Linked DNA regions of Homo sapiens: regions 2, 3 and 4 are each linked to region 1. The links are contacts of gene promoters, found by promoter capture Hi-C in human tissues and cell types (Jung and others, 2019). All regions are on one chromosome and are shown on one strand. Each heading gives the region's core, a stretch centred on a gene start or on the middle of the fragment in contact. The rest is flanking DNA. Distances are from core to core; before and after follow the strand shown. Region 1 holds the start of CREB3L3 (cAMP responsive element binding protein 3 like 3). Region 2 overlaps PIAS4 (protein inhibitor of activated STAT 4). Region 3 holds the start of SHD (Src homology 2 domain containing transforming protein D). Region 4 overlaps ZBTB7A (zinc finger and BTB domain containing 7A).

Region 1 (3,336 bases), core at 541-3,040:
CACCACTGCACTCCAGCCTGGGCAACAGAGCGAGACTCCTTCAAAAAAAAAAAAAAGAAGAAGAAAGAGAGAAAGGAAGGAGAGGAAGGAGAAGAGAACCGAACCTAGCCAGGGAGATGCCCCAAGTTTGAGTTTGAACCTAACTCCAAATTGCTGTGTGACTTTGGATGAGTTTCCACCCTGCTCTGGGCCTCCATTCCCCACCTGTAAGAAGGAGCTGATGCTACCCGCTAAATGATGTGCTTGGCTAAAATCAAGCACCGTGACCCATTAGTGCATCGTAGAGCTGAGCAGAGCTCTGGCTGGGCTCTGGCGGGTCTAGCACCTTCGTGGGGCCTCAGTTGGCCCGCCTGGAGCTCTGTGGTCCCGGGGCAACTGCAGTGGACTCCTCACCTGGTCCTTGACGTGACCCCAGCCCTCGCCCAGCTCCACGTGTCTCAGGATGCCGTCCTGCCGGTCAAACAGGAGATCCAGGAGCTCAAAGCTGTCGATGGGGTCCATGGAGCAGGCAGCAGAAGCCATCTGGGGCGCGAGGAACAGATGTGAGGGTCACATACAGCCCCTGTCCTCCCCACCTCCCATGTGCACATAACCCTGGCTCTTTCCGGCTAGAGTTCAGTTGCCGCTCTGCCTCCGGGTTGGGCCAGCTGCTGCCCCTCGCTGAGACTCCCTTTCCAAATCTGGACTTTGAGGCTGATAGAGAGAATTCCACAGTGTGAGAGCCAATTTCTCTTAAAGTGCTGGAGAGGCTGGATGTGGTGGCTCATGCCTGTAATCTCAGCACTTTGGGAGGCCGGGGCAGGAGGATCACTTGAGCCCAGGAGTTCAAGACCAGCCTGCGCAACATAGAGACCCCTATCCCTACTGCAAATAATTTAAAAAAATTAGCTGGCTGCGGTGGCACACACTTGTCGTCCCAGCTACTGGGGAGGCTGAGGTAGGAGGATCCCTTGAACCCAGGAGGTTGAGGCTGCAGTGAGCTATGGCCACCCCACTGCACTCCACCCTGGGTCACAGAGCAAGACCTTGTTTCAAAAAACAAAAAAGTATGGCAGGCACGGTGGCTCACATCTGTAATCCCAGCACTCTGGGAAGCCGAGGCGGGCAGCTCACCTGAAGTCAGGAGTTTGAGACCAGCCTAGCCAACATGGTGAAACCCTGTCTCTAGGAAAAGTACAAAAATTAGCCGGGCGTGGTGGTGCACACCTGTAATCCCAACTACTTGGGAGGCTGAGGCAGGAAGATCTCTTGAACCCAGGAGGTGGAAGTTGCAGTGAGCTGAGATCGTGCCATTGCACTCTAGCCTGGGTGACAGAGGGAGACTCCATCTCAAAAAATAAAAATAAAAATAAAATAAAATAAAATAAAAAGTGCTGGAGAGAGGCCCTAGCTAGAGATGCCGCTTGCCTCTCAGGCCTTCACAGCCTCCCCAAGTGCCCGCTCCTAGGAGGCAGGGGGACCTGGAAGAAAGACAAGGGCAGCCCCGGGGCAAAGGCACACAGTTTTGCTCATTGCATCCTTTCTCTGGGCCTCAGTCTTCCCATCTGTACAATAGGGGTGGAGATGGGGTCCTTCCAGCTCTGGCAGCTTGGGTAGGCTTTCCCAGCCTAGACTCCCGCTCTCCCTGGGGACCTAGTAGGGCTCACCTTTCCAGCAGCTAAATCCGTATTCATGGGTCCATCCAGTTCTGTCTGCAGATGCCTCGGGGGGTCTCTGCTCCAAGCTGGAGGCCCACCCACCGCCAGCGTTACCTGGGGCCGGGCAAGCTCACAGCCCTCTGTGGCTCTGTCACCACTCCCAAAAGATGCTGAAGCGGTCACAGGCAGCTCCCAGCCCACCTCCAGGTGCTGATTGGTGGACAGGGTGGAGAGACAGGGTTGAGGGCCAGTGACACTGGGGCAGGCAGGAGCAGGGGAGGGAAGACCGTTATCTGGGTGTTTTGTGGTTTTCCAGCCCTCAGTGAGCAAAGGTCGAAGTCTGGGGTACCTCCACTCTGCCGTGACCTCTGCCCTACTTATGAGGACTTTTTCTTTTTTTCTTTCTTTTTTGAGACGGAGTCTCGCTCTGTGGCCCAAGCTGGAGTGCAGTGGTGCCATCTCATTTCGGCTCACTGCAACCTCTGCCTCTTGGGTTCAAGTGATTCTCCTGCCTCAGCCTCCCGAGTAGCTGGGACTACAGGTCCCCATCACCATGCCCGGCTAACTTTTGTATTTTTAGTAGAGACGAGGTTTCATCATGTTTTCCAGGCTGGTCTCGAACTCCTGACCTCGTGATCGGCCCCTCAGTCTCCCAAAGTGCGGGGATTACAGGCGTGAGCCACCGCACCCGGCCAGTTACAGGACTTTTTCTCTTCAGAATTCCCAGATGGGTTCTGGGATAGCCCAGGGCCCTTACATGGGTCCTGTCCACTCCCTGGACAGAAACAAACCAAGAGGACCAGACCAGATCTTCACTGAAGCCAGTTTTCCTGCCAGCAGCTAGCGGCTCCCATCCTTCACCCCACCTGCCAACCTCCGGCCCCCAGCCCCCTCCGAAACCAGCTTGGACTCCGCCTCTGAGTCCCCATGGGTGATTCTGTGCAATCAATTCTCTCTAGAATCTTCTATCGTTCATTGAGTCAACAAATATTTATGGAGCCAAACTGGTTCCTGCTTAGGGCCTTTGCACCTACTCACCTGCTCGCCCCTCTGCCTGGAACTCTCCTCTTGTACCCTCCCTCTTCCCCTCTGGCTCTAGGTCACTGTATTGACATTTTAGTGAATGTTCGATATTTGTGAATCAGCCCGGGTGGCTGAGAGGTGTCTCTGACCTCCCCTCCACCCCCTACCAAGAGAGAGGAGCCCTGTTTTGTTTTTTTGTTTTTTTTTTTGGTGTTGGTGGAGGACAGGGTCTCACTCTATTGCCCAGGCTGGAGTGCAGTGGCAGGATCATAGCTCACTGCAGCCTCCAACTCCTGGGTTCAAGTGATCCTCCCGTCTCAGCCTCCCAAGTAGCTAGGACTGCAGGCGTGCACCACCACACCTGGCTAATTTTGTTTTTTTTTTTTTATAGAGATGGGGTCTTACTGTGTTGGCCAGTATGGTCTCAAACTCCTGGGCTCAAATGATCCACCTGCTTCAGCCTCCCAAAGTGCTGGATTTACAGGCATGAGCCACTGTGCCCAGGCAAAGTCCCCCTTTAGCAGATGACATATTAGACCAAGCGTGGTGGCTCACATCTGTAATGCCAGCACTTTGGGAGGCCGAGGTGGGTGGATCACCTGAGGTCAAGAGTTTGAGACCAACCTGGCCAACATGGTGAAACCCCATCTGTACTAAAAATATAAAAATTAGATGG
Region 2 (3,336 bases), core at 360-2,859, 130 kb after region 1:
GTACGGGCTGGGTGAGAGGAGTGGCTGTGAGGTCAGGAGAGGGGCTGGCCTCCCTGGAAAATGCAACAGAATCCACAGCAAAACCCTGAACCAGAGAGGGCAGCCAGGTGCCTCTCCCTGCGAAGAAACATAGCTAAAACGTGCATGCGGGAATCTAGCAGCTGGCTCACAATGGCAAGAAAACACCCAGTTTGGGAGGTCAAGGCTGGCGGAGCTCTTGAGCCCAGGAATTTGAGACGAGCCTGCGCAACATGGTGAAACTGTCTCCACAAAAAATTACCCAGGCGTGGTGGTGCACACCTGTGGTCCCAGCTGCTTGGAGGCTGAGGCAGGGGGATCGTCTGAACCCATGGAGGCACAGGCTGCAAGCTATGATTGCACCACTGCACTCCAGCCTGGGTAACAAAGAGAAACACTCTCCAAAAAAAAAAAAACAAAAACCAGTAACACCTGAGGATAAACTTTAACAAGAAACGCCCCCAGAAGAAGAGGAAAAAGTCTATCTACCCAAAGACGCATCCGTGGATGTTCACAGCAGAACTGACCACAACAGCCACAAACTAGCAGCATCCTGAGTGTCCTTCCGTAGACCGAAGGACCAACACGCACGGGACGCGACCCAGCCATGGAAAGGAGCCAGGCTCAGACCCAGGCCTCAGCACAGGTGCACCGTGAGGATGTCCCACCCAGTGAGAGACGCCAGACACGAAAGGACACACAAGGCAGGTGGCTCACGCCAGTAACCCTGGCACTTTGGGAGGCGGAGGTGGGTGGGTCACTTGAGGTCAGGAGTTCGAGACAAGCCTGGGCAATATGGTGAAACCTCGTCTCTACTAAAAATACAAAAATTAGGCCAGGTGCAGTGGCTCACGCCTGTAATCCCAGCACTTTGGGAGGCCGAGGCGGGCGGATAACAAGGTCAGGAGATCGAGACCCTCCTGGCTATCATGGTGAAACCCCGTCTCTACTAAAAATACAAAAAAAAAAATCAGCCAGGCGTGGTGGCGGGTGCCTGTAGTCCCAGCTACTTGGGAGGCTGAGGCAGGAGAATGGCGTGAACCCAGGAGGCAGAGCTTGCAGTGAGCCAAGATCGTGCCACTGCACTCCAGCCTGGGCCTCGGAGTGTGACTCTGTCTCAAAAAAAATACAAATATTAGCTGAGTGTGGTGGTGCACGCCTGTAATCCTAGCTAGTCAGAAGTCTGGGGCAAGAGAATCACTTGAACCTGGGAGGCGGAGATTGCAGTGAACTGAGATCGCGACACTGCACTCCAGCCTGGGCGACAGAGTGAGATTCTGTCTTAAATAATAATAATAAACGAAAGCCACATAGTATGTGATTCCACTTCTATGAAATGTCCAGGACAGACCCATTTACAGACAGGAGGGGATGCGTGGGGGCCAGTGGATGAAGGGTGGCAGCTGCTGGGGATGGACATGACTGCCCTGAGACTAGGCAGTGGTGGGAGCTGCGATACCTACTGATCCACGAGAACCCACTCGATGACACCCTTAAAAACTGTATATTCTATGGTATGCAAATCATATCTCGACATAAGAAAAAGAAATGTGGGATGGGCAGGGTGGCTCACGCCTGTAATCCCAGCACTTTGGGAGGCAGATGTGGGGTGGATCACGAGGTCAAGAGATTGAGATCATCTTGGCCAACATGGTGAAACCCTGTCTCTACTAAAAATACAAAAATTAGCCAGGCGTGGTGGTGCGCACCTGTAGTCCCAGCTACTCGGGAGGCTGAGTCAGGAGAATCGCTTGAACCTGGGAGGCAGAAGTTGCAGTGAGCCGACATCACGCCACTGCACTCCAGCCTGGCGACAGAGCGACTTCATTTCAAAAAAAAAAAAGAAAAAGAAAAAGAAATGTCCAGAAGCTTTCTGAGGAGAAAACCAAACTTTTTTTTTTTTTTTTTTTTGAGACGGAGTCTCCCTTTGTTGCCCAGGCTGGAGTGCAGTGGCAGGATCTCGGCTCACTGCAAGCTCCGCCTCCCGGGTTCACGCCATTCTCCTGCCTCAGCCTCCCGAGTAGCTGGGACTACAGGCGCCCGTCACCACACCCGGCTAATTTTTTTGTATGTTTGGTAGAGACGGGGTTTCACTGTGTTAGCCAAGATGGTCTCGATCTTCTGACCTCGTGATCCACCTGCCTTGGCCTCCCAAAGGGCTGCGATTACAGTTGTGAGCCACCGTGCCCAGCCCAAACTGATTTTTTTATACTGTGTGGCTGGCTCTGAGCACTCTGCAGCAGGGACCCAGTGCAGGTGGAGGCTGTGCTGACCCAGGTACATAGACAAGGAAGACGAGGCTGAGAAAGACGAGGTCGCCACCTTGGGTCACCCAGGCAGAGAGGCCTCCATGGCCAAGCCTGGCTCGGCTGGATCTGAACCCTTACTAGGTGTGAGGGCCAGGCTGGGAGGCCCCAGGAACCTGGCCCCACAGCAGGTGGGGGCGGTGGGTCTGAAGCGGCTGGGCACGAGAAGCTAGGCATTAAATGGGGGCGCCCGGCCCAGCCCTGCCATGGACTCAGGGGTGACCTGGGCAAATGGCCTCCCCTGTCCTAAGGGCCCAGCACCTACCATTAGCCTGCCCAGCAGGAATCTGTCTCAGCTGGAGGCAGTACAGCCTCGGAGAGACTGAGGGAGGAGCAGAGCGCAGGGCAGCCACACTGGCCCCTCACCTGCCACAGTTCAACCGTCCTCATCTGAGGACGACCCTGCCCCAGGCGACACCGAGCTGTGTCTGGGGACATCTGTGGTTGTCAGAGTTAGGGGTGTTCCTGGCACAGAGCAGGTGGAGGCCAGGGATGCTGCTCAGCAGCCTGCAGTGCCCAGGACGGCCCCACCGAGGGAACCATCCCACCTCACTATCCACGGTATGGAGGGGGAAACCCCGTATTCATTATATAACTGGGAAAAAACCTGACTTCCGCCAGGCGCAGTGGCTCACGCCTGTAATCCCAGCATTCTGGGAGGCTGAGGTGGGTGAATCACCTGAGTCAGGAATTCGAGACCAGCCTGATCAACATGGCAAAACCCTATCTCTACTAAAAATACAAGATTAGCCGGGCGTGGTAGTGAGCGCCTGTAATCCCAGCTACTTGGGAGGCTGAGGCAGGAGAATTGCTTGAATCCAGCAGGTGGAGGTTGCAGGAAGCCAAAATCGCGCCACTGCACTCCAGCCTGGAAGCCTGGATAACAAGAGCTACACTCAGTCTCAAAAAAAAAAAACAAAAAAACACCTGACTTAACTTCCTGCTCATGCTGGACACCAGAATAAATTCCTAAGGCGGGCGGTGTAAACCGGGGACCCCCAGCTCCTGGGAT
Region 3 (3,336 bases), core at 321-2,820, 130 kb before region 1:
ACAGATATCCACCGGGCGCAGTGACTCACACCTGTAATCCCAGCACTTCGGGAGGCAGAGGCGGGAGGATCACCTGAGGTCAGGAGTTTGAGTCCAGCCTGGCTAACATGGTGAAACCAGTCTCTACTGAAAATACAAAAATTAGCCGGGTGTGGTGGCACACACCTGTAATCTCAGCTACTGGAGAGGCTGAGGCAGGAGAATCGCTTGAACCCCAGGAGGTGGAGGTTGCAATGAGCCGAGATCCCACCACTGCACTCCAGCCTGGGTGACAGGGGGAGACTGTCTCAAAATAAATAAATACATAAAAAGAACAGACTTCCCCAAGCAGGTGGAGGTCTGGAGGACTGGGAAGGGTCTGTCTGGTGCCCCAGTCCCCTCCTGTGATCACACATAAAATAAGCTCTCCACGATCCAGAGAGCCCATCCTGAGCCTCCCCTCCACCCAGTCTCCCCAGGCCACCCAGCCACGCACCTCCTCCCCGGGGCCGCCCAGAAGGGCCTTGGCTCTGGCCATATCCGCAGCCTCCACCTTGATGAGCCGGTGCTTGGGAGAACCATACTTGGCATCTCCGGGGTTCTTGGAGTCCCCAGGGCCCGCGGGGTCCGGCTCCAAGCGGCTCTCCGCGTCCTCATAGGGGTCCTCGAAGTCCAGGTTCTTCTGCGCGCGGTAGGCCCTCAGGATGTCGCTCTCGGTGTAGTCCGGGGTGGGCGGCTGCGGAGGGGGCCTCCGACCCCCAAAGCTCAGGTAGTCCCGTAGCCACTTGGCCATTTGGGCGCCTGTCACCCCAATCGGGCCACTGTCAGAGGGGCCCCCACATGCCCTTCTCCGGGCCCCTTTCCCCAAGGAGGAGGAGGAGGTGGAGAGGAAGGGAAGAGCAGGGAAGGATGAGAAAGATCAGGTGCGCCCTTTGGCGGGGCTCTGGATGGATAGAGGGAAGGAAAAGGTGAACGAGGGGGAGGAAAAGGAGGCGACAGAGGAGGGAGGAAGAGAAGCCCGCCTTAGCCCAGCTTGGGAAGCACCGCGGGGGAAGGGGGGACCTCGCAGGGCCCCGAACCCCGCGCGCTGGGGGCTAGGGCGAGGGGCATCCGCGGAGGCGCGCGGAGTTTCCGCGGGCAGCGCGGTTCCCTGGAGCGACACGGCCGCCCGCCGCCTCCAGGAAGCTCCGGGATCCCTTCCTGGGGTCGGGAGATCCGGGCCAGCGCCACCTGCGGACGCTCCCGGCCCCTCTCCCAGCCCGGACGCCTGGGTTCTCAGCGCAGCGGGCGGGCTCCCCAGGGGCGCGGGCGCCGCGCGCAAAGTTGGGCCGCGGAGACTGTGACCCCGGCGGGACGCATCCTTTGTCGCGCTCCTCTCGGCTCAGCGGGGAGCCCCCAGTCCCGCGGCCCCCGCCGCCTCGATCCGGCCCCAGCCACCCGCACAAAGGGAAATAAAAACCTCCTCCAATCCCCCTTCACGCTTTCGGAGAGACTTTCCCCGCCGCCGCCGGGAGGTGGGACGCTGGGGAGGGGGGCGCGCAGGAGGACGCCCCTGTTCCCACCAGCCCCGGGCCGCGTCCCGGGCAGCAGCGTCAAGGCTCCCCCACCTCCCCTCCGCCGCGTCCCCCGCCCCTCCCCTCCCCCTGCGCTCCCCTCGGAGGTGACTGAGACCTTCAGCTGTTCTGGGGAGGGAGGGAGCCGCTGCCCGCGGAGGGAAGGGGGGCTGGGGGCGGGAGTCGCCGGGGCCGAGGCCGCGGCAGCTGGACACTGACCGGGACGCCCGAGACTGGCCGCAGCGAGCGCGGAGCGCGGGAGGTGGGGAGCAGCTGGGAGTGACACTGCTGGGGAGGGGAGGGGAGAGGGAGAAGGAGGGGAGGGGGAAATTGCCCGGGAAATGGGGGACTGCACTTGACCGCCAAAAGGGGTGAAATTGACCAGCAGAGGGGGTGGGAATGACCGCCAGTGAGGGTCGAAATGGAACCGATGTCTGGCGGTGAAACGGACCGGGAGAGTGGGGATGTGCAAATTGGTGGAGAGGTCACTGGCTGAAATTGATATTGGAGCAGCAGAAGGAAGAGGGGGGCAAAGGAAGGGTGGGTGCGGATCGGGCTTCCCCTCCCCCAAGAGGGCTCTGCTCTGTGCCCCGCTCCCGCCCCAGAGGACTAATTGCGGGCAGGGGGAGGGTTGGGGGCAGCTGGCTTGGGGAAGGGAGATGGTATCTGTGCCTGGCGCCTGTCCTCTGCATCTGTCCTTTTGTGGCTTCTGGGGGCGGGGTGGGGGGGAGCGGTGGCGGGAAGAGGGGCAGAAGTGAGAGGGGTCTGGCCTGAACTGGCTGCCTGTTGTCAGCTGTCGTTGTCTGAGGGTGAGGGCACTGAGAGGTTTGGGGGGTGGGAGAGGAAAAGGGAGCCACTGGCCAATTTTCCAGTGCAGAACCGTTTTTTTTCTTTCCCCATAAGGGGGCTTGCCCAGTTCCTCCTAATGAGGGGAGTGAGAGAGGGGTGGTCAGGAAGGATGGGACCCCAGATTCTCTCCTCTTGTGGCCAGCCCCCTGGTCAGGCACAGGTCATAGCTTGGAGAGCACAGTTGGAGGACAAGACAGAAGTCAGAACCAACACTGCTATGACTGGGGCCTCCTGGCAGCCCGGCGGGGCTGAGGGCAGGGTCTGTCACTCCCTGAGTCTTGGTTTTCCTTATTTGAAAGATGTGGTTTCTAACAGGAAATCCCAGACAGCTCTAGGAAGGATTCCAGGAGGGACCGAGCTATCACCTGGCTTCCTCATTTTATGGATGGGGAAACCGAGGCACAGAGATGGGAGGGACTTGTTCAGAGCCACTCCACAGCTGATTCTGCCTGCACATCGCCGTGGGGCCTGGCCTAGGGTGGCACTGGAGTCTCTCTTTTTATTTTTTTGAGACGGAGCCTTGCTCTGTCCTCCAGGCTGGAGTGCCGTGTTGCGATCTCAGCTCACTGAAACCTCCACCTCCCAGGTCCAACCAATTCTCCTGCCTCAGCCTCCTGAGTAGCTGGGATTACTGCCACCACGCCCAGCTAATTTTTATATAATTTTATATTTTTAGTAGAGATGGGGTTTCACCACATTGGCCAGGCTGGTCTGGAACTCCTGACCTCAGGTGATCTGCCGGCCTCGGCCTCCCAAAATGCTCTTCATGGAATCGGTTCTGCAACTCCTCTCCACGATGAGCTCCATTATCCAGATGGGAAAACTGAGGCCTGGAGCCAACAAGGCAAAGCCCCTGAAGGATGCAGGCGTCTAGACCCTTCTGTTCCTCCCCTTCCCTGCACTGGCTGTGTCCCCCAACACAGACCTGTTGAACTCCTTCCTCCCTCCTGAAGTG
Region 4 (3,336 bases), core at 322-2,821, 100 kb after region 1:
AGACAGGCAGGGAGGGGCCCTCAAGTCACACCCAACCCCTGCCTTCTCGGGGCTCACAATCCAATCAGGGAGACAGAGGAGAAACAAGGAAATCAACAGAAACAAGAGAGACCGGCCGGGCGCGGTGGCTCACGCCTGTAATCCCAGCACTTTGGGAGGCCGAGGCAGGCGGATCACTTGAGGTCAGGAGTTCAAGACCAGCCCAGCCAACATGGTGAAAACCCTGTCTCCATTAAAAATACAAAAATCAGCCAGGTGTGGTGGCGCACGCCTGTAATCCCAGCGTTTGGGGAGGCCGAGGCGGGTGGATCACCTGAGGTCAGGAGTCCGAGACCAGCCCGGCCAACATGGTGAAACCCCGTCTCTACTAAAAATACAAAAATGAGCCAGGTGTGGTGGCAGAGGGCCTGTAATCCCAGCTACTTGGGAGGCTGAGGCAGAAGAATTGCTTGAACCCGGGAGACGGAAGTTGCAGTGAGCGGAGACCACACCACTGCGCTCAAGCCTGGAAGATAGAGCGAGACTCGGTCTCAGAAAAAAAAACAATAGAAGAGTCAGGTGGTGATGACAGGAGGATGGAGACAGGGCTGGGGAAGGAGGTGACATTTGAGCCCAAATTTGACTGTGAAGATCCAGGAGGAAAAAAGAAAGTACCCCGGACTGCGGGAGCAGCACATGCAAAGGCCCCAGCGTAGCTTGTGCTTTGCACCTTTGCACGTCAGGGTGGAGCCCAGATAGGGGAGTGACGCTGAAGTGAGGGGAGAGTGGGCAGTCCTGGGTGTCGTGGGGTGGGGACTTGGTTACTAGGGTGACCAACTGCCCCACTTTGTCCCGGACAGAGGGGTTTCCCAGGATGCAGGACTTTCAGTGCTAAAACCAGAACAGTTGGTCACCCTATCTGTCACCAAACACCTCGGCCGCCGCCAGCCTCGAGAGGGCAGGGATGTTTGCCTGTCTTGTTCCTTGCGGTATTTTCAGCACCTGGAACAGGGCCTGGCCCTCAGCGGGCGCTCGGCAAAGGTCTGTGGCATGAATGAAGGCACCAGGCACTGGCTGGCCTCATCCTACCCCAGGGGTAGGGGCAGGATGGAGTGGCAGAAGCCCACTGTCTCCTTCTGTGGTAGGGAAAGGGGTTCATGGCGGGCGCAGTGGCTCACACCTGTAATCCTAGAGCTTTGAGAGGCCGAGGCAAGAGGATCACTTGAGCCCAGGAGTTTGAGATTAGCCTGGGTAACGTAGCTCAACCCCCATCTCTCAAACTTACATATATATATATATATATATATATATATATATATATATATACACACACACACACACACACATATAGTTTAATAGCTATTTAATAGGGTGTGGTGGTGCGTGTGCTACTCTGGAGGATGAGGCAGGACGATGGCTTGAGCCCAGGAGTTCGAGGCTGCAGGGAACCGTGATCACGCCACTGCCCTCCAGCCTGGGGGACAAAGCCAGACCCTGCCTCTCTTTTTTTTTTTTTTTGGAGACAGTCTCATTCTGTCACCGAGGTTGGAGGGCAGTGGCGTGATCTGGGCTCACTGCAACCTCCACCTCCCAAGTAGCTGGGATTATAGGCCTGCGCCACCACGCCTGGCAGATTTGTTTTTTGAGACGGAGTTTCGCTCTTAAAAAGTGAAATTTTTTTTTTTGAGACGGAGTTTCACTGCAACCTCCACCTCCCAGATACAAGTGATCCTCCTGCCTCAGCCTTCCTAATAGCTGGCATTACGGGCGCCTGCTACCATGCCCGGCTGATTTTTGTTTTTTGTTTTTTTGTTTTTTGTTTTTTTAGTAGAGACAGGGTTTCACCGTGTCGATCAGGCTGGTCTCGAACTCCTGGCCTCAAGTGATCCGCCCGCCTCGGCCTCCCAAAGTGCTGGGATTTCAGGCCTGAGCCTCCGCGCCTGGCCTAGACTTTGTCTCTTAAAAAGTTAAAAAAGGAAAGGAAACGGGGTTCAGAGAGGCATAGCGTTTTCCCAAGGCCACACAGCACTCAGGGTCCGAGGCCCTCTTTAGATGTTCAGAATGCGAAATCGCCCCCACTCGTCTCGTTTTTCGAGGGACCGTCCCCATCGGGGCACCGAAACCTCTGGTGCACGGTCCGTGTTCTGCAAGGGTGATGATCCAGGGCCTGCCGTGTCCGTGAGGGTCCCTGGGCGGGGATCGGGGGTCCCCGGCCCCACTGACCGTGCCCGCCCCGTGCCCCGTCCACAGGCAGGACAAGCTGAAGGTGCACATGCGGAAGCACACGGGCGAGAAGCCGTACCTGTGCCAGCAGTGCGGCGCCGCCTTTGCCCACAACTACGACCTGAAGAACCACATGCGCGTGCACACGGGCCTGCGCCCCTACCAGTGCGACAGCTGCTGCAAGACCTTCGTCCGCTCCGACCACCTGCACAGACACCTCAAGAAAGACGGCTGCAACGGCGTCCCCTCGCGCCGCGGCCGCAAGCCCCGCGTCCGGGGCGGGGCGCCCGACCCCAGCCCGGGGGCCACCGCGACCCCCGGCGCCCCCGCCCAGCCCAGCTCCCCCGACGCCCGGCGCAACGGCCAGGAGAAGCACTTTAAGGACGAGGACGAGGACGAGGACGTGGCCAGCCCCGACGGCTTGGGCCGGTTGAATGTAGCGGGCGCCGGTGGAGGAGGTGACAGCGGAGGTGGCCCCGGGGCCGCCACCGACGGTAACTTCACAGCCGGACTCGCCTAAAAACCAAAAAGAGAAAACAGAAACCCGAGAAAGAGAGAGACAGAGAGAGAGAAAAAAAATCACCCACCACCCCCCCAAAAACACAAAAAAAGAAAATCTATCTATATACAGATATCTATATCTATATATATATATACAGATATATATATATGACGCGTCACAGAATCTAGGGTAGCGCTTTCTCAGATTTCCCTCCTTTCTGACGTTTTTCTCCCTCCGCAGGGGCCCCGGCCCTCCCTGGCTCCCCTTCCCCCCACCACCCCATCGCTGGGTTTCGGGGCTTGGTTTGGGGTTTTTTGTAGGACACAAGGAATCCGAGACCCCGCACAGCCCCCTGGGCACCCGGCATGGGGCCTGGGGCCCGATCCGAGGCCCTGGGCTGGGGGGAGGGTAGACGTGGGGGCGCTGGGGGGGGACTGGGGTGGGCTTTTAATTTCCTCCCCTCGCTGGTTTCTATGAGTCTTTCAGACAAGACCTTAAATGATTTCTGTCTGCTCTGAGCGGACGTTAAAATGGGCCCCCGTCCCCCGACCCGCACCCTCCTTCCTCAGGGCACTTACTAAGGGAGGGGTCTCCCTCTCCATCTCCCCAGTGGCCTCCCCGCCTCCAACCCT

Evidence for each region. Contacts are between HindIII fragments. The study calls those that stand out against the background at their distance.
Region 2: a contact is called between a fragment that was not itself captured here and the fragment with the promoter of CREB3L3 in region 1, in 8 of the 25 tissues and cell types used here (IMR-90 fibroblasts, adrenal gland, aorta and 5 more).
Region 3: a contact is called between the fragment with the promoter of SHD here and the fragment with the promoter of CREB3L3 in region 1, in 2 of the 25 tissues and cell types used here (dorsolateral prefrontal cortex and mesenchymal stem cells).
Region 4: a contact is called between a fragment that was not itself captured here and the fragment with the promoter of CREB3L3 in region 1, in 10 of the 25 tissues and cell types used here (IMR-90 fibroblasts, bladder, dorsolateral prefrontal cortex and 7 more).

Annotation. Positions count from the first base shown.
Region 1 is chr19:4,152,085-4,155,420 of GRCh38, reverse strand. It overlaps CREB3L3 (cAMP responsive element binding protein 3 like 3), which reads right to left and starts at 1,790. Exons shown (of 10, transcript NM_032607.3): 1 at 1,647-1,790; 2 at 394-522. The coding sequence starts at 1,673. The HindIII fragment of the contact is 37,156 bases long and covers 1-3,336 here.
Region 2 is chr19:4,024,667-4,028,002 of GRCh38, reverse strand. All of the region lies in intron 3 of PIAS4 (protein inhibitor of activated STAT 4), which reads right to left. Among named protein-coding and RNA genes, the nearest start is that of PIAS4, 19 kb to the right of the region's middle. The HindIII fragment of the contact is 6,301 bases long and covers 1-3,336 here.
Region 3 is chr19:4,277,500-4,280,835 of GRCh38, reverse strand. It overlaps SHD (Src homology 2 domain containing transforming protein D), which reads right to left and starts at 1,570. Exons shown (of 6, transcript NM_020209.4): 1 at 476-1,570. The coding sequence starts at 772. The HindIII fragment of the contact is 14,506 bases long and covers 1-3,336 here.
Region 4 is chr19:4,047,138-4,050,473 of GRCh38, reverse strand. ZBTB7A (zinc finger and BTB domain containing 7A) reads left to right here. Exons shown (of 3, transcript NM_015898.4): 3 at 2,230-3,336. The coding sequence ends at 2,722. Among named protein-coding and RNA genes, the nearest start is that of ZBTB7A, 18 kb to the left of the region's middle. The HindIII fragment of the contact is 9,621 bases long and covers 1-3,336 here.